Regions from separate parts of the Homo sapiens genome. Here all the other regions are linked to region 1. The links are contacts of gene promoters, found by promoter capture Hi-C in human tissues and cell types (Jung and others, 2019). All regions are on one chromosome and are shown on one strand. Each heading gives the region's core, a stretch centred on a gene start or on the middle of the fragment in contact. The rest is flanking DNA. Distances are from core to core; before and after follow the strand shown. Region 1 holds the start of GXYLT2 (glucoside xylosyltransferase 2). Region 2 has its middle 6.5 kb from the start of EIF4E3. Region 3 has its middle 22 kb from the start of PROK2. Region 4 has its middle 62 kb from the start of PROK2.

Evidence for each region. Contacts are between HindIII fragments. The study calls those that stand out against the background at their distance.
Region 2: a contact is called between a fragment that was not itself captured here and the fragment with the promoter of GXYLT2 in region 1, in 1 of the 25 tissues and cell types used here (adrenal gland).
Region 3: a fragment that was not itself captured here is called in contact with the fragment with the promoter of GXYLT2 in region 1 in 1 of the 25 tissues and cell types used here (lymphoblastoid cells).
Region 4: a contact is called between a fragment that was not itself captured here and the fragment with the promoter of GXYLT2 in region 1, in 1 of the 25 tissues and cell types used here (dorsolateral prefrontal cortex).

What each region holds. Positions count from the first base shown.
Region 1 is chr3:72,884,963-72,890,015 of GRCh38, forward strand. GXYLT2 (glucoside xylosyltransferase 2) reads left to right here and starts at 3,084. Exons shown (of 7, transcript NM_001080393.2): 1 at 3,084-3,546. The coding sequence starts at 3,272. RefSeq lists silencers at 3,124-3,353, 3,454-3,583. The HindIII fragment of the contact is 12,200 bases long and covers 1-5,053 here.
Region 2 is chr3:71,729,400-71,734,452 of GRCh38, forward strand. It overlaps a transcript of EIF4E3 not described here. Among named protein-coding and RNA genes, the nearest start is that of EIF4E3, 6.5 kb to the left of the region's middle. RefSeq lists an enhancer at 499-793. The HindIII fragment of the contact is 3,729 bases long and covers 411-4,139 here.
Region 3 is chr3:71,804,882-71,809,934 of GRCh38, forward strand. No RefSeq gene overlaps it. Among named protein-coding and RNA genes, the nearest start is that of PROK2, 22 kb to the left of the region's middle. The HindIII fragment of the contact is 7,193 bases long and covers 1-5,053 here.
Region 4 is chr3:71,844,124-71,849,176 of GRCh38, forward strand. No RefSeq gene overlaps it. Among named protein-coding and RNA genes, the nearest start is that of PROK2, 62 kb to the left of the region's middle. The HindIII fragment of the contact is 5,285 bases long and covers 226-5,053 here.

The sequences.
Region 1 (5,053 bases), core at 1,834-4,333:
TAGAGTCAGAGAAGTCCACTTTTGTACCTGCTGGGACCCAAAGTTGAGCAGTTAGTCACATTTTTTCTCTCTGTTCCCTCTCTTTTGAAAGTGTAAAATAAAATCAAAAATAGACAACTTTTTCTTAAGCCATTCCAGTGTAGAAAACAAAACCTTATGAAAACAGGAATGTCAATTATGTAATCATTATTCTAATTAGTTAAATAGAAGTCCTTATGTATGTGTTACAAGAATTTCCCCCATAACATCCTTTATGATTTAAGTTCGATGACAGTTTGCGCTTGGTGGTAAAGGATTTTCTCCATGGCCTGAATTAAGACCATTAGAAAACACCAGGCCATGGGAGCAGTAACCATCTGATGACTGTTCTTGTGCATCTGGTGTCCAGGGACATGGGCGACGTGCCTCATCTGTGTTAGAGGGTGGAACAGATGTGTTTGGCACTGCATGGGATCTGGTGTTCCTCTTCTCCTGGATTCACATCCCCACCCAAGGCCCTCTTAAGTGTTCTGCCCTAGCCTGGTTCAAGGAGGTCATCCAACTGACTTTATCAAGTGGAATTGGGATATATTTGATATACATTTGCCTAACAACACGGAAAAGGGTTTTCCTCCTTCTTTCCCTGCAAGGGACATCCTACTGCTTTGAACGTCCAAGTATGCCTAGTCATCTTTTAAAATGTAAACGTTTTCAGAGAAATGAGGTTTGCTTTCCTTGTATGTGCTTATTATCTTGACTACCTGAATTGCGAGGGATTTTTATATATTCATATGTTCCAAAGTCAGCAACTCTCCTGTTGGTTCATTATTGAATGTGCTGTAAATGAAGTCTTTTGCAACTAAAATGAGATTTGACCACATCCAAAGAAAAAAAAATTAGAGGATGTAGTTTTCCACCAATCAGAGCAATCCAAACAAATCCAAAAGTTGAGTTTGGACTCAGTGGAAGGAGGCAGATTAGGCTTTTTTTTTTGGCTTCAGTGAGGTTCAAGAAAACTGAGTCCTCTCTTTGGTCCATGATTCTTTGGTGTTTGAGGCTAAAACCCTGGCTACTAATCAAGTGTTACTTTGACTCACTCTGCCTTTGTTTATCCTTGTTGCATCTGTCCTCCTAGAGGTAGAAGGGAGGGGGCAAGACAGAGTTGGGAATGCCTGCTTCTCTGGGCCACATGTCAACAGAGTGGTGGCCATTTCTAAACCTGAAAGATCTAAACATCATGCCTTAGCCTGGCCTAGTGTTTCTCAACAGGGTCCCACATTGGGCCAGGATAGTTTTCGTTGTTGGTATGTCCTGAGCATTGCAGGAGGTTTTGCATATGCTAGTAGAACCTGTCAGCCTTCCCACAATTCCAGATGCTTCCTGGTAGGATGGAACCTTCTCCCTCATCTTTGAGAACTAATGGATTCTTTGCGCTTACTCACCTACAACATGTCCCCCACACTGAACTTGCACCCTGCCATTTCCTAGATGTCTGCTTGGCAAGAGCTTCCAAATTACTAAATATTCTCATCTCTAGAACTTTTAATACAATGGGTTCTCAAGGAATTAAAATAAAATGCTAATATGAGAATAATTCAGAATATAACTAAATTTTAGATTATTTATAAAGCAACATGGAATCTTGTAGAAACTCAGGGACGGGCTGGGCGCGGTGGCTCATGCCTGTAATCCCAGCACTTTGGAAGAACGAGACGGGCGGATCACTTGAGGTCAGGTGTTCAAGACCAGCCTGGCCAACGTGGTGAAACCCCGTCTCTACTAAATATACAAAAATCAGCCGGGTGTGGTGGCGCAGCCTGTAATCCCAGCTACTTGGGAGGCTGAGGCAGGAGAATGGCTTGAACCCGGGAGGCGGAGGCTGCGGTGAGTTAAGATTGCACCATTGCACTCCTGCCTGGGCTACAGAGTGATCCAAAAAAAAAAAAAAAAAAAAAACTGAAAAACTCAGGGACGTTGTTATAACTTAACTAGTGTTCTTTGTTCTGTGGTGTGCTGAAAAGAGAGTTAATGGAGTCCTGGCTGTCAGTTCACCGTGAGTCATAAGAGGATGTGTCCTAATGTTTCAGATTTGTAACTGGGGATCCCCTGGAAGAATCGTCTGGAAATTACGACCTTCATCTGGCGATTGCAGCTGTTAAAGTCTCCAAAGAAGCCATTCTTACATTGTGTTGTGAAATTATTACTCTATCTCAAATCTGTGCCAGAAAGAAAATAAAATGTGTGTTTATGTGTATATTATAAGCTATGTTTTATTGAACTAATCATTACAGAACTTTTATTGGGCACCGACTGTGAGCCAGGCACTGTGCTAGTTTCTTTGAAGGCATTATTTAATTTAATGCTCACAAAACGCCTCTGTAGTGAGCAGTATTGTCATTCCCATTTTGCACGTAAGGAAGTTAAGGCTTAAGAAAGTTGTGCAGCTTCCTCAGGATCACCAAGCCAGTTAAGCACAGTGTCAGATTTCAAATCCAAACTTTGAAATTCATTCTCTAATTTCTTCAGACTACATGGATCGGTTCGGTCCAGTCTAGCTGTCCCAAGTTCTACTTTGGTGTTTTGAGTCTGAAACCCCAACTACTAATCACGTGTTACTTTTACTCGCTTTGCCTTATTTTGCATGTGTCCTTGTTGAATATGTCCTCCTCCAGGAAAAAGGGAGGTGGCAAGACAGAGGCGGCAATAGGGGTTTATTCAACAGATATTTATTGGGCACCACCACCCGCAGATCCCTGCACTGGGCAAACAGGACAGAGATGTTCCTGCCTGAAAGGATGTGTGGATAAGTGCACAAATGTGTGGATAGATGGATAAAATAAATAAGGAGGAAGCACATGGAATACATCAACAAATAAGTGAATCATGGTATGAGAGAATCAGCGGGAACAGTGGATGGCATGGGTGTGTGAGTGAATGGGGAAGTAAACGAACGAACGAACGAATGAATGAATGAAGTGGTTTTGAGTCTGAGCTACCAGAAGCCCGAGAGCCTGGCTGCGGGCGGGCGGAGGGGCGGCTACTCCACACAGTACGGTAGGCGCAGGCTGCTCCTCCTGTAACCCAGCTCTCACCGCCTCCCCCTCCTCTCCTCTCTCTCCTCCTCCTTCGCCGTCGCCGCCGCCGCCGGCCGCCCGCCGGCCGCCACGACCCCAGTCCCCGGCGGGCGGGCGGAGGAGGCGACCGCCGCGCGCTGCTGCACTCATCCTGCCGCCGCCGCGATGCGCAGAGGGGCCGAGCCGCCTGGGGGCCGCCGCCGCCGCCGCGCCGCACCATGAAGCTCCGCAGCAAGGCGGCGGCGCTGCTCTTGCTCGCGCTGGCCGCGCTGCTGCTGGCGCTGCTGTCCCTGCGCGCTGGCCGCGCTGAGCCCCCAGCGCTGCCCGCGCGCCCCGCGTCCGCCCCGCAGCGCCACCCCGCGCCTGTCCCCGCGCGCTGGCCGGGGCCGGGCGCCCTCCCCGGGGCCAGCCCGGGAGTTCGGAGGCGCCGGCCCCCGCGTCCGCGCCCCCGAGCGGGCCGCCGGGGCGCTGCGAGACTGGAGAAGTTGGCGAGGTGAGTCGTGGCAACCCCAGAATCCCATCTGCGGACCCGTGTCTCGCTCCCTACACCCGTGCCAAGTCCAAGGGAGGCTTTGCGCTGGAGAGACAGATTTCCAAGTTTCACCCACGGGCTGCCCACTTCTGTTTCTTAACCCGATAGAAAAGAAGACCCACCTTGGTGGAGTCCCCCTAACAGCTCGGTGTTGATAATCACGTACATTTTTTGAAGTGTCAAGGAAAGTGGTTTCGTACATTACATTTTTTAACTGTCAAGGCAAGGCGTATTTTTGCACTCTTGCAAACATGCACCCTTTGTTTAATTTGTCAAAAGCCATCACGGTGCAAGAATGTTTTATCTAATTCTCATGTTTCACTGGAGAATTTTACCGAAACCTTAGATATGGTTGAGTTGGAAAAGTTAGATGTTTACCAAGGACTGGCAGCCTCTCATTTAACCTCGAGTACCCCCATGCTTAGAACAGAAGGGACACTTGACCTAAGTTTATTAAAAAGAAGTTTTCTCCTTGAAAGGACTGATGCGTGGCACAGAAAAGACAGAGTGGGGGTTTCCAGATCCTCATTCTGTTTCAGGCTCGAGTGTGGTCAAAGGGTCCTCCTACAAGAAAAACAACTTAACCTTCGACCTTCTGTTTGATACTCTCTTTCCCTACACAAAGCCTAACACGCGGAGGCTTTTCATCAGAGAGCTTTATTTTTGGCCTCAGGGTTGCTGGAACGCCCCGCAGGTTAGGGATTTGAGTTCATTTCCTTTGTTGTGGAGGGCTTTTCAACAATCCCCTTGTCTTGTAGCGAGTCTGTTTCATCTGCCCTTTCAAAACTGTTGTTTCTAACTGCCATTGCAACGTCCTTGTTTGCTGGGCTCCTTAATTTCAACCTGAAAGGAGTTGAAAAATTATTTTTGACCATAATGACTAAATCTCTTTGGTGCCTTTACTGTAACTAAAAGACACGAAACCTCAAGAAGTAGCTGTGTCAGCCTTTGTTTCCCTTCTGTCTCAGTACAAATGGGTACTGACAAGTTTTAGGGGGAAAAAACCCCAACAATCTGTCGCTTTAAAGTACTTATAACACTTTACAGCCCTTTCTGGATGTATACAGTCTTTAAGGATATCTTTGTTAGGAAATTAATAGGATTTCCCCTCTTCTATACTGGAGTTTCTTGTAAGAGATTAATTAGGGTTTAACTGCAAGTTTAATATGATTGCTAAGTTTGATGGGACAACTGGTAAGATAATAATAACTGTCATCCTTAACATCGCTAACCTATTGCCAGGGACAGTGCTAACCGCAGTACATACAAATAGTCACAGTTAACACTTAACATATACAACTACATAATCCACACCATAACCTTCCCCCCCACCGCTGTTTTTCTTTTGGTTTTTTTTTTGTTTTTTTTTTTTTTTTGTGACAAAGTCTTCCTCTGTCGCCCAGGCTGGAGTGCCGTGCTGCGATCTCTGCTCACTGCAACCGCTGCCTCCCGGGTTCAGGCCTCCCAG
Region 2 (5,053 bases), core at 1,025-3,524, 1.2 Mb before region 1:
ACTCAATAAAGGCAGAACATGGGAGGGAATTGGCCAGTGGCTCCCTTGAAAGGAGGGAACACATGGTCTCTAATGTCAGAAAACCTGGGTCAAAGCTAGTTCTCCCTAAACCTGGCAAGCTTCCTACCCTCTCTGTGCCTCAGTCTCCACATATGAGGACTGGACATGCTAATGGTCTCTATCTCTCGAGTTATCGTTAGGATTAAATGAGAAAATGTATATGTCAAGTCCCTGGTATATAGTAAAGATACAGTAAATGTCAGGCGTTCATTCATTCCACACTCAATAAATATTTGTTGCATATCTGCTATGCAAATGCCACTGTTCTAAGCTCTCCAGGTTCATTAGCAATACAGACAAAAGAAATTCCTCTCTCTGGGAGCCTACATTCCAATAGAATGTGTGTGTGTGTGTGTGTGTGTGTGTGTGTGTGTGTGTGTATTTAAGTGTTTGTTGAATGGGTGGCGGAACTCATTGGCAATATGCTGTTTATGTTGCTGGGCTCCTTCTCTAACACTGAGAAGTTTCCTGTTTACAGGGTGTGATACTATAAATATGCAGGCCTGTCTTTTATGTGGGAACTCCGTTTTCCTTTAACAGCAAAAGAAAAAGGAAGGCAATGGCCACTAGATGGCAGTCTTCAGTGCCGGTAGGTACAGGGCACAGGAAGGGACTGGCCTGGGGCAGAGGCCCTCACTGAAGCTTCCAGCAAAGGTGTGTTGCAGCTGGTCAGTCCTAGAGCAATGGCTTGGAAAGGTAGGGGAGACTTGACACTATTCTGGGATACTCACGGGTCAGGGGAGGCTGCGGTGTGGTTCAAGAGTGATTGCTTCAGAGTGAGACTGATCCCTGCTCTAACCAAGATCCTGCCATAGGTAAACCCTGTGACTCTGGGAAGTTATTAACCTTGCTGAGCTCCAGATTCCTCATCTAGGGTACAGATAACAAGAGCACTCTCAAGGGACTGCTCTGAGCCATGTATAAGAAAACATTGTCTATAAAGCACCTTGCAAGTTGCACATAGAAAAAGCTCAACTAGTGTTATTTATCTAGATTCCAAAAGACCTCTGAAGATCTTTTAGGGGCCAGGCCAGGCCTCTCTTGTTCAGAGCTGCTAATGGAAGAGAAAGGGGCAAAGGAAATGGCATGTGTTAAGCATCTGCAGTGAGGACACTGAGGTCCATGTGGTCATTGAGCCTGGAAAATGTGGCCTTGAGGTTTGGTTGTCCCACTCTCCACATCCATCCACCTATCAGACATTGAGTTCTCGTCCTGATCTGCCTGCAATCCGTGTGTTGGTCTTCCTTCTTTTTTTCTTTTTCTCTATTATTATTGTTGTTGTTTTTTTTGAGACAGAGTCTTGCTCTGTTGCCCAGGCTGGAGTGGAGTGGCACAATCTTGGCTCATGCAGCCTCGGCCTCCCAGGCTCAAGCAATCCTCCCATCTCAGCTTCCCCAGTAGCTACAAGCACATGCCACCATGCCCTGCTAATTTTTAAATTTTTTGTAGAGACAGGGTTTCACCATGTTGTTCAGGCTGGTCTTGAACTCCTGGCCTCAAGTGATCCTCCCACAACAGCCTTCCAAAATGCTGGAATTACAGACGTGAGCCACAGTGCCTAGCCTGCTCTTCCTTCTTTATTCCCACTGGTGCCAGCCACTCCCAGTCCTCACTCCTGAGTCAGCCAAGCATGGCCTGGAGGACTGCAACAGCCTCCTAACGGGTCTCCCTGCTTCTAACACCCGACCCTCTCATCTCCTGCCAGACAGCAGCCTGAACAACAGTCCTCAAACACTGGTTTGCTTCTGCCTGCTCTCAGAAAAAAACCCAGACTCTTTCTGGTGGCCAACAGTACTTGGCATCTTCTGGATCCTTCCTGCCTTTCCAAATCCATGGCTGATCTCTCCCCCTGCCTCAAAGCTTCTCTGTGGCCACAGGGCACCTGCATATGCTGTTCTTTCTCCTGAACTGCTAGTCCCTCCGCTTGCATGGCTGACTCCTTCTCCTGCCTTAGGCCTCCACTCTAAAGCAGGTCTTCTCCCCTTCCTCATTATTTTTTTCAGTGCACGTGTCAGCTGCACACATCAACTGCCGATCTTCCGAAACAGAATATCCAGTCCAAGTGGGGAGGGCCAGGCCTCTCTTGTCCACCTTTGTCCACCCAGTGCCTAGTGCAGGGCCTGTCCATGGCTGGCACACCAGCAACATTTATTAAGGAAACAAACTGGGTATACAGCAGATATTGGTTGAAAGGAAGAGTCTGTGACTTTGTCTCCTAATTTCTTGTCTTTCTCCTCTGCCAGTGTATCTTTCTCATGGACGGCATGTTGGTCTTCCTAAAAAGCACTTTTGTCCTATTACTTCTTTGTTCAAAAGCCCTAAAGCGCTGCCTGTTTCTCACAGGCTGAGGTCTGAAATCTGGAATCTAGCCTTTGAAATTGTCCACACCTTGACCCCCTTTTTCAAATGCATTTGCGAGTATATTTCCAAATATATTTAGAGAGATATAATTATACACCTATATTTACATATACTTGGAATATATATGTTAAATCTATATATTTGGAGAAACAGCTATACATGGAAATATATATATTCCAAACAGATTTGTCCCTATTTCTTGGTGCATTTTCAGCTCTGCCACAACATGAGCTCCCGAAGACAGGCCTGGGCCCACCCCCTCCACCACTGTCTTCTGGGTTCCTAGCACGGTGTCTGGCACATGGGAGACCCAGCTTTACTGAATCAATGATGGGCTTACTCCCCACTTGGTAAACACACCATATGTACTCATATCTCCACACTTTTGCCTGAGACCTTTCTTCTCTCCTCTGACCATCTAAATTGTCTAACCATCCTTCAAGGGCCAGGCCAAGTTCCCTCACAGGGAATCAGTCACCAAACACACCCCAGATAGGGACAAGAGATTCACAGAGTTCTAGAGACACAGCTGGGCAGTGCCCAAACTACTTTCCTGATTTAAAAAAAAATCTCTTCCCTGATTTAAAAAAAAAAAGTCCCAACGATGTCAGTATATAGGTTTTGTGGCCAGTCTAAGAGCTCTGATTAAAGACCTTTGTTGTGGCCACACAGAATTCCACTGATTGGAGGAGTAATGATTTGTATAACCAACTCCTCCTGTTAGGCACACAGATTATTACCAGTGATTGTGGCTATCATGTGCAACCCTGTAATAAACACTCTGCCAATCACTGGCTTCTTATCAAAGAGTAGTTCTGAACATTCCTGGCCAGCCAATCAATCAGAGATACAGAGATAGCTTACATCAGAAACTGGACTGAAGGGGAGAGCCGGCAGGCCTCAAATTGGTCTTCAGCAATTTTTAAAAGAAAGGAAACGATGAGCAGTAGGGAGGCAATGTGATCAGAGGAAAGTCCAAAAACATGTGCTTGAGCCAATGTCTAACAGCCATGTGCTTTGGGACAAATCGGTGAACCTCTGAGTCTCCTTTTTTCTCAATTAAAAAATGAGTGTGCCAATAACACCTGCTTTGCAGTGCTGCCTGAAGGATCAAATCAGGAACATTTGGTGAGGCTCTACATAAAAGTCAAAAAAAGGTCACCCAAGTGTTGATTCTCGTTTCCTTATCACAGTTCCTGGAGGGGATAACCCTACATCTTCTCTGCTTTTTGAATACGAGTGTCCTCCTTTGTATGCTCGTTGGGGATCTAGAGACAGGTGGAGTGAACAACTGTCCCAATTTGCCTAGGACTGTTCCAATTTGAGCACTGAAAGTTCTGAGTCCCAGAAAACCCTTTGGTCCTGGGAAAACCCGAACGGTAGATACACAAGGAGCGGGTCCTGGAGCACTGCCTGTTCCAGAGGATTTCAGCAACCATCTTGGAGGCCTCTAATCCCCACTATGAGCTGATAACTGCTCGCCTAGTGGGATAAATCAACAGCAAGCAAGTCATTTGTTTACATCTAAGAAGCTGCTTTAAGGATAAGATTTTGTTTTGGGGATTTCATTTACGGTTCATAGATCATTTAGGGGAACATTTTGTAAGCCAGTTCTCTGAGGAAGTGTATTGTGCTTTCCGAAGCTTTATTTTAAGCTGAAATAATCATATTTATGACATAAGAAATCTTGATACAGAAAATATAAGCTGATTTGGCAAAATATTAGGAGGTTATGAGTCAGGCTGCAAAAAGACCTCCTGTACCATCTTTCCCTGTACCATATTTAACCCAAGCTTCCTGAGGGGTGGGGAGCTCACCTTTGAGGTCCTCAGAGACTATTATAAAGTACTGCTCATGTACTGGGAAGTCAATAAATATCTGAATAATGAATCCTTCTGTGATTTAAAACCATTCATTAAAGTGTAGATTGAAATACTTTATAAGTCATTTACTTCTTAAGAGCTAAGTACACTAAAGTTTGAGAAGCCATTATCAATTGATGAACAATTAGTAAAGGAAAATAAAGCAATTCTTGAAAGGAAGCTGCATTATTTGTTTTCTAAAAAAAATCATAATTACATGACATTTTTAGAACTCTAACTACTGTGCAAAATGCACCATTCAGAAACAGAAGGACACTTGCAGTGTTTAGGCCAATGAGACCCCTTCAGTTACTGAATCTCTTTTGTTTTACCATCAGCAGGAATTGCATACTCACAATACAGAAAGATCCTGTTAATTTTTCACTCTTTTCCTGTTCATTCTTATTAGTTACATATTATCTACATAATGGCAGGTTGCACCTTATGGTATTTGCTTTAAATTTTCTTAGTGTTTGTGGTAAGACAGTATCTTATTCCCAGAGGCTAAAAAGATGCACATATTGATCATACTAGGTCATCATTACAAAAGAGGAGCTCTCATGGAGGCTATGATGAACATGGTATCCCTCAGATGACTTTATACAAGTATTTGATGTCACAAATATATACTGTGGTTGACAATGATCTTGGAGATAGCTGAGTCACTTTCGTCCTTTCAAAACCTACCAGGTCACTCAGAAATACACTGTGAATTATCCTAAATTTGGGATGAGTCCCTATCATTCCTAAAATGCCTAAGGGTCATGTCT
Region 3 (5,053 bases), core at 1,462-3,961, 1.1 Mb before region 1:
ATGTTAACTTCGGTTATTGCAAATGATGGCTGGAGGTCTGGGGAGAGGGATTGATCATACTGGGCACCTGCATCTCCTGTGCAAATCTCTCCTGGGGCCTCAATGCTTACGCAGTTTGCTCCATACACCCTTGGTTTGAGTGGACCCTCCCCTGGCTCACAGGCTGCCTTTCATTGTTCTGGGTGCTCTCAAGCAGTGATGCCACTGTGGGGCATGGTGCCTGACCCCTAGAGCAATGCCTCCTCCAGGCCCCAGAGAGCTCTCCCCTGAAAAGTCAAGGCTTGAAAGAAGGAAGCCTGCCATTGGCTGAGAACTGGAATTATTACAACCCCCAATGCTGGAGGTGGGACTTGCGGGAGGTGATTGGATCATGAGGGCGGGTTTCTCATGAATGGTTTAGTACCATCCCCCCTTGGTACAGTATAGCGAGTGAGTTCTCACAAGATCTGGTTGTTTAAAGCTGTGTGGCACCTCCCCCATTTCTCTCTTCCTCCTGGGGTGGCCATGTAACATGTGCCTGCTTCCCCTTCACATTCTGCCATGATTGTACATTTCCTGAGGCCACCCCAAAAGCAGAAGCCAGTATGCTTCCTGTAAAGCCTGAGGAATCATGAACCAATTAAACCTCTTTTCTTTATAAATTACCCAGTCTCAGGTATTTCTTTATAGTAGTGCAAGAACAGACTAATACACCCATTCTTGACTTTGGAGTTAGATTAGACTTCTGAAGTTCAAATCTCGACTCTGCTACATTCAAGCTGTGTAACTTTGGGCAATTCACTCAATCCCTCTCAGCCACAGTTTCCTATTTCTCGAATGTAGTTTCCATGAGGGACTGGGTCTTGGTCTTTTCCTGCTGTTGCTATATTCCCAGTGACAAGACAGTGCCTGAAGTATGGTAGGGGCTTCATAAGTATTTTCTGAGGAAATAAATAAGGGTATTTGTGAAGGCTGATGGAAATGATGGGTAGTATCTGGCACAAAGCAATCACTTAATAGTATCTGAGTGACTATCTGGCACAAAGCCAGATCTGGCACAAAGCAATCACTCAATAAATGCTAGCTATAAATATATAAAATATACATATGAAGATGTAATTTTATTTTATTTCTTATATCTGGTAACATAGTTTCTAACCACAATGTAATGTGTTAGAATTCATCCTCTCTCATGCCTGTAATCCCAGCACTTTGTGAAGCTGAGGCGGAAGGACTGTTTGAGCCCAGAAGTCGGAGACTGCAGTAAGCTGTCATCATGCCACAGCACTCTTGCCTGGGCAACAGAGTGAGATCCTTTTTCTAAAAACTAACAAAACAAAACAATTATTTCCAAAAATTTAAAACTTAAAAAAAATTAAAAATTGAGAAGTTTTTTAAAATATGAAAAAAGAGGCATCTCCATATTTTCTGAGAGCAATAGTACATTGGTGAACACTGATTGCCCCGCATCCATTCACTTGTGTCTTTCTTCCTAACACAACTCCGATTCTGACCAAGTATAGCTTAGAAGAATGTGACCCGAGACTCTAGAAGTAAATCTTTTTTTTTTTTTTTGAGACAGAGTTTCACTCTGTCGCCAGGCTGGAGTGCAGCGGCACAATCTCGGCTCACTGCAACCTCTGCCTCCCCGGTTCAAGCAATTCTCCTGCCTCAGCCTCCCAAGTAGCTGGGACTATAGGCACCCACCACCATGCCCGGCTAATTTTTTGTATTTTTAGTGAGACGGGGTTTCACCATGTTGGCCAGGATGGTCTCGATGTCCTGACCTCGTGATCTGCCCACCTCGGCCTCCCAAAGTGCTGAGATTACAGGCGTGAGCCACCGCGCCAGGCCAGGAGTGAATCTTAAGGAGGCTATTGGCATGTGCCATTCCCCCATCACCTGCCTGCATGACTCATTGGTCCTGTGACTAGGACTGGTTCAATCAAAATGAAGGAAACATTTATATTACACACTTGGAGATGTGGTTTTTCCATTTTTGACCAGGTAGTTGAGAACAAAGAAGTATGTAGCTCCAGTTGCCACTGACAACTGTCTTGTTATTATGAGGCACTTGGAAATGAGGCTTACAACATCATGAGAAAGACGGAGAGAGTCAGTTATCTGACGACATCTTTCAGCTACTGATGGTGCCACTCCTTCCAGTTAGGTAAGATAATACATTTCCTTACTGTCTTATTTTTTATTTATTTATTTTTGAGACAAGGTCTTGCTCTGTTGCCCAGGCTGGAGTGCAGTCGTGTGATCTGGGCTCACTGCAGCCTTGACCTCCCAGGATCAAGTGATCCTCCCACCTTAGCCTCCTGAGTAGCTGGGACTACAGACGTGTGCCACCACGTCTGGCTAATTTTTGAAGTGTTTTATAGAGATGGGGTTTCACCATGTTGCCCATGCTGGTCTCAAACTCCTGGCCTCAAGCAACCCTCCCTCCTCGGCCTCCAAAAGTGCTGGGATTATAGGCATGAGCCACTGAGCCCAGCCATTTCATTATTATTATTATTATTATTATTATTATTATTATTATTATTATTATTAAGACAGGGTCTCATTTTGTTGCCTAGGCTAGAGTGTAGTGGCAGCAAGAGGGCTCACTGAAGCCTCAACCTCCCAGGCTGAAATAAGCCTCCTGTCTCAGCCCCTCATGTAGCTGGGACTACAGGCATGCGCCACTACACCTGGCTAATTTTTGTACTTTTTTAACAGATAGGATTTCACTATGTTGCCTAGGCTGGTCTCCAACTCCTGAATTGAAGCCACCCACCTGCCTCGGTCTCCCAAAGTACTGTGATTATAGGCTTGAGCCACCATGCCCAGCCACCTTATTTTTTATGTCATTTAGGATGGGTTTTTCCAAGCCTTACAGCCAGAAATATACTACCTAGTGGGCTGCAAAATTATGTAGGAGATGAAACTAAAAATGTCTTCTTCGAATAATAATAGTAATGGTAGCCAATGCCTTCTTCAGCACAGTGTCAAAACATATGCCAAGCCCTTCAGCTATATTAGCTATTTACTCTCTCAACAATCCTATGAGGTGGAGACTATTATTTACTTCATGTTTCACATGAGGAAACCAGGTATATGTCAAGTTACATACATACACACACACTAAACCCAAAACAGGTCAGTGGAAGAGCTGGGATTTGAACATAAAGGTCTAGTTTTGGAACCAGACTTATACCTACCCATGAAACCTAACCATTTCCATCAATAGATGAATGGATAAAGAAACTGTGGTATGTATACACAATGGAATACTAAGCAGACACAAAAAAGAATGAAGTCATGTCTTCCATAGCAACATGGATGGAACTGGAGACCATCAGCTTAAGTGAAACCACTCAGAAATAGAGAGATAAATACCACATGTTTTCGCTTATAAGTGGGAACTAAATAATGTGTACACATGGGCACAGAGTACGCAAAGACAGACATGGAAGACTTGGAAGGATGGGGTATGGAAAGAAGTGTATGATGAGAAATTTCTTAACGGGCGTAATGTACATAATTTGGGTTGATGGATACCCTAGAAGCCCTGACTTCACCACTACAAAATCTATACAAGTAACAAAATTATACTTGTACTCCATAAATTTTTACAAACAAACAACAAACCCCTACCCATTAAACTATACTTTAAAGTATTTACTTCTATGAAGATTCATAGTGAGAAAGAAAAAAATGGAATGTAATATGCTTCAGTTTTTTAAAAAGTATACTAAAGCTTTCATAGACAAAAATTGAACACTTGCAAAATTTTCTTGCTTGTGTACCTTTTCCAGGGAATTTGTCTCCTTTTGAAAACATGTATTCGTTTATCCAATCAAATATTTATTGGACACTACGTGTCAGGCATTGAAGCAGGTGCTAGAGTACATAGTGAATAACTTCCTGCCAGGTGGAGAAGACAAACAAGTAAACAAGAGGGATAAGCCCTTTCCCAGGAAGGCACAGTGTGCCATGGGCATCTAAACATGGTACCTGAACCAGTCTGATGCAACAGTCGTCTAAAAAAATGCTTCCCAGGTGAGACCTAAGATTTCCCCAGGAAAGCGGTGAGAGGTCATGTCCAAAGGCCTGGAAGAGGAAAGAAAGAATGTGTCACATCTGTGACACTGCAGGCGGTGGTAGCTAGGAAAGGGTTCAGTACATAGAAAGAGAGATGAAGTCAGTGATGCAGGCAGTGGCCAAGAAGTTCAGCTCTTGTCTAAGGCCAGGTCCTCCAGAAAGTAGAGCCTGAGTCAAAAACTAAAGTGCTAACAATTCCGGAGGTGCAAGTCCAAGGTTTAAAAGGTAAGTTAAAAAGGGAAGTATCGCAAATAAAGAAGCCAAGCATGGTGAGGAGACTGTCACACACTGCTGTGGGGCCACCATGTTACAAGGAGCTGAAAAGAGGCATAGCAGGTGGCTTAGCAGGTGAGTCTGCCTGGGACATGGGACTGCTCTGGAAAGGCTGTGGGAAGAAACCCTGTCTTTTAGTAGGCCATGAAAATAGAAAGAAGGAGGAATTAATCTGCCCAGCTCATTCTACCTCTTGTTTTCCCTTATTTAGGGAGCATCCATGGGGAGTTAATTTCCCCACACTTCTGGGTTGCAGCATCTGGTGCTTGGAGGCTGCCCAGGAAGCCAGATGTCATGCTCCATCATGCGACATTTCATCCCATTCTGGAAGTGGAGGGATGACTCAAAGCAGAGGTTGGTGTGTAGACTCAACCGGCCCACGGCTTCAACTTGGGCCCCAGGCAGCTTGGGATGTTCATCCATGGCCAAGCTGAGCTTCTTCAGAAATGAAGAAATTGAAAGAATCTGCAATGGTACATAGGTTAATGTCCGATAGTCTTTTTCCCTGAGAGAAGCTATAAAGAACATCAAGCCTAGGACAGCCCCAATCAGATGAAGAGCTCAGACGGTTCATCCTGGCTGCAGGGTGGAGATGGATTGAAATTAGCAAATCTGAAAGTGTGTCTGTCACCCTGTGGCCTGGTCTAAGGGAGTAAGAATGAGGATGAAGCCAGGTGGATAGATCTAAGCAATATTAAGGAAGTCAGTTTCA
Region 4 (5,053 bases), core at 1,618-4,117, 1.0 Mb before region 1:
GCACGTTTCCTTTTTTCCTTCCACGTCTACTCATAAGCCCCTTGGACAGAGTTCTGCAGATCCTCTGAGCTGGAAGCTCTGTCTCCAGTCTCACTCCTGATCCCAGCCTGGCTAATACTCTGGTTTCTCTTCAGATTGCGTATTTTTTTCCCCTTTTACCAACCTAGCTATGCTCTATTGCTCAAATACCATTGACAGAAAGTTTTTTCTCCTACTCAAATGGGGGCACTGTTGTTTATTATATTAAAGCCTAACTATTTGGCCCAATCTTTCCTTTTTTCTCAAACCTAACCCCAGAAAATGAAATTTACATGGTGTCTTTTGGGTGACCTGTATCATCTCCTTGACCTCTGCTTCTTTCTGGCCATATCCTGCCATTCTCTTATTCAGTCTCTGCATTTCAACCATCCTTGCTTTCTTTCAATTCCTAGAACTGCTATGCTCCTTCCCACCCCAGGGCCTTAGTACATGCTGTTCCCTCCTTGTCTGTAATACTCTCTGCTCTTCATCTACTAACTCCTTCTCCTCCTTCTCTTTGCTTAGTTAAGCCTTTCCTAAGTGATCCCCTGCCCACCATTCAGCCCTCATTTTCTGTCCCCAACAGGTCAGGTTGCCTTGTTACATACTCTTATCATGTGTGTATTTCATATCACTTCTCATGATTGCAGTTAATTAATTGCATAGTTACTTCAAATATCTGGTGCTCCCAGCAGTCTGAAAATTACGTGAGTGCCTGTGTTGTTCACTGCTGTGTCTCTAACACCTAGCATGATGCTTGGTGTATTGCAAGTTCTTGTTGTATATAGAAGAATGAATATGTGCAATGCACACTATCTAGCTCTGAAGGCTTTGCCTTTCTCCTCCTGTGATGCCCACCACCTTCCTCATTTAGATGAAACACTTTGTAGATAACTATGCTCAATAAACCTGATGGATGTTTATTGATGGATCCCTGGGCCAGCAGTTTGAGAGACCACTTATAAATACAAAGGTGCACAAAATCATTCTTGTTCTTTGTCTATAACCAAAAAATCATATTGTGTATCAATTGCAAATGAACTATAATGAAACAATAATATTCTTAGGGACTTGATAACAATGTTGACTGTTGGAGACTCTTGAAAAAAATAAGATGATTTTGGGAACTTGTTAAAGCTTGTGTTTACTCTCAAATTTAAGGGAGAATGCATATGGCACTAATAGAAGTTAGACAATAGAGTGATGACTTAATGTTTTGGAAATTTAGGGGACAGGTGTGACAGCCTATTGTGTCTCAGAACAAGCAATTTGAACAAAGACATAAAGTATACAAATGGGAAGAGAATTTGATTTCACTTAATTTTATTTGGTAGAACTTAACACTTGAACAACTGCTGTTTGCTAGACTTTAAGAGTTTTAAAATTCCCCTTTCTCCCTAATGGATCCTGAAGAGAAATGTATCCATTTGTTTCATGGCAAATGTTCAATTGCAGATTTGAGGGATAATAAAAGCTCTTACCTTACTATTTAATTATTCAGTTGACTGCTAGAAAGATTAAGCTACCTAAATGGGTTTGTAACTCAGAAATGACAATATATGCTTATTTTAAAAGATAGCCATGTAATTCCAAGACAAACTAGTGGCAATCTAGATTTTTATTATGACAGTAGCAATTTGGAAATTATGCCAAAAGTTCAAAAAAATTGGCAGTCATAAGTTTGCTTTTTTACTTGATAGTCTTGAATATGCTTTCTGTGACAAGTATTATATTCCTGAAACTTCTACACTGAACACCCAGAGTGAATAATTGCATAAAATGTAACAATGAGATATTTATAAATATAATATTTTTCTATTCAACGATTACATTTTTCTATAAGAAGAGTTTGATGTATATTTAATGCTAGACCTACTTTAAAATATGTACACATTACTAAAGGGAAAATGCATTAAAAGAAACCACTGTATTATCAATTTCTGGTAAAGCTTAAAAATGTTGTCATTAATTATAGATGGAGCACTTTTCCTGTGATATATTCCTATTTGTTTGACACCTGGCAGGGCCTGCACCAATTTATTCACTTTCTCTGTTACACAGCATTCAATCCCTGGGGCCATTATTTCTGAGGGAAACCAAGTAACATAACCAGAAGCCTCCATGAATGATTCATACTAGAACACTCTAGAACATGCTGCCCAATGGGATATGCTGACTGACTAATCCAAATTGATGGCTGGAGCTTCTGTGGTGTCACAAGGAAGTGATCCACTTACCAGATCCTCGAGATTAGCTAAACCCTTTCAGCAGCTGCTGAGCCTCATAGGTCTCCCCTTGTCCGCACGTATTATCTGCAACGTTATCGGGATAGAGCATTTCCTAAACAAACGCACGCGCATAAACACTGTAAAATAGCTGCTTGTCTCTGGCACCTCCGAGACACTTAGTAGCGTCTTTATCTCTTTTATATTGAATAACCTCTTCACTAGTATAGAAGCAGTGCATTTATATTTATAGAAAATTAGGAAACACAAACAAAAACTTCACCTTACCATCACCCAGAATCACCATATGTTAGATCTTCGTCCATATGCTTCCGAATCTTTATGTATTTGTACATATATTTGTATTTATATACACACATATTAGTATGTATTCTGCTTTACCAGTGTGAGATGACACTCCACTTACTGTCTTAAAACTTACATTTTCAGCCAATGATCTTTACCTTTCCACTTCAGTACTTTTTTTTTGAGACAGGGTCTCACTCTGCCGCCCAGGCTGGAGTACGGTAGCGCAAACACTGCTCACTGCAGCCTCTACCTCCTGGGCTCAGGTGATCCTCCCACCTCAGTGTCTTGGGTAACTAGGACTACAACTACTGTCACACTGGGCTAATTTTGTTGTTGTTGTTGTTGTTGTATTTTTTGTAGAGACAGGGCATCACTATGTTGCCCAGGCTGGTCTTGAATTCCTGGGCTCAAGTGATCTGTCCACCTCAGCCGAGCCACTGTGTCTGGCCCACTCAGTATATTTTTATGTCATTGAATAGCTAAACCATATTCAAATTTCACCAATTAAGCTAAAAAGACCTTTATAACTGGCTTGTCCTCTCCAGAAATCCTCTCAAGAATCAAATCTGGCTGATATAGTCCTTATTTCTACCCAGTCTATCCTGATTTCCTTTTTGATGACATTGGCTTGTTGAGGACACTGGACTGGTTTTCCTGTGGAATATCTCACCTTCTAGATTTGTCTGATTGCTTCCTTACTGTGCCATGTAGCTGATTCCTGTACCCCTCCATCTCCTGCAAATGATAGGTTAGATCTAAAGGACTGATGGATTCAAGACAAGCATTTTTGGCTAGAATATACCATAAGGGATTCTGTATCTAGAACTACACTACTCAGTGTGGTAGCTACCAGCCACATGTACCCATTTAAATTTAAGCTTAAATAAATTAAAATGAAAAATTCAGTTCCTCAGTTGTATTAGCCACATTTCAAGTGCTCAATAGCCCCATGTGGCTAGTGGCTACCACTTAGACAGGGCAGATATGAAATATTTCTTTCATTGAAGAAAATTCTACTAGACATACTAACTAGAGAATGAGTCCATTTCTCCATCTCTTGAATCTGGGCATCACTATGCAACTTTGTTCAGCCAATAGGATACTAATAAACATCATGCAATCAGAGGCTCGGAAAATGCTTGTGTACCAGGGCTTTCCCTCTTTTGCTATTGAAACCTCGAGACCACCACGTGAAGGAGCTCAGGCCAGCCTACTGGAGGATGAGACACCACATGGAGCATGGCCCCAGCTAGTCCAGATGAGTTCCCAGAGATGTGAGTCAAGCCATCCTAGATCATCTCAACAGACCATGTGAAGGGAGGCCTCAGCCATCCAGCCATCTCTGCTAACTGCCAGACATTTGAGTGAGGTCATCTGGGATCCATCAGCCCCAGCTGGGCCACCAGCTGTCCGTAGAGACCAATAAATTTGGCCCAGACAGAAGAACCAACCAGCTGACCCACAGAGTAATAAAGAATAAGAAATGATTATTGTTTTTAGCCACTAGATTCTTTGAATGATTTGTTACTCAGCAATAAATAACTGACACATGATCAGAAAGGAATTTATATAATGTTACTTTGGTCCTATGTCTTGTTCTGTATCCCACTCACTTAATATATAAATCTTGCCTAAATCAATAATTTCATTAGGTTTTGCAAGATCAGGTTTTCAACCTTTATCGTTTCTTCTACGTTCATTAACTGGTGTTCTTTTGTAAAGTAGAGATTCTCTTCAACAGGTGGGCTAGTTGGCTATCCTGTCATATAGTTCCTACTGGAAAAGGCAAAATGTTTAATTTTTTTCCTTTAATGACCAACTAAAAAGTAAGGAGTGGTTTAATGGCCATCTCGTATAATGTCTTTTCAGGCTTTCTCTTTTTTTAGTATCTTTATGAAGTCACACATTTCATTTATTAAATACATTTTATCTATAATCATTATTTTATTAAATTTTATTGTGGTAAGAAAACAACATGAGATTTCTCATTTACAAATTAAAAATTTGTAAAAAAACCCACAAATTTGTAAGTGTTCAATACATTATTGTTGACTGGGGGCACCATGTTACACAGTAGATCTCTAGAGCTTATTCATCTTGCTTGACTGGAACTTTATGCCTGTTGTTGCCTCTGTCCCAGAGCTCCAGCTCCTGTCAACCACCATTCCGCTTTTTTAAATTTTAGTTTTTTGAGATGGGAGTCTCATTGTGTTGCCCAGGCTGGTCTTGAACTTCTGGGCTCAAGCGATCTTCCTGGCTCAGACTCCTGGATAGCTGGGATTACAGGCATGAGCCACTGTGTGATTCCATAAATTTGACTGCTTTAGGTACTTCAAATATGTGGAATCATGCAATATGTTGCTTTCTGTGACTGCTTTACTTAGCATAATATTCTCATAAAGTTCAGCTATGTTGTCACATATAGTAGAAATTTCTTCTTTTTTAACTTTGAATAATATTCCACTGTGTGGATATACCACATTTCACTATTAATTTTCTCA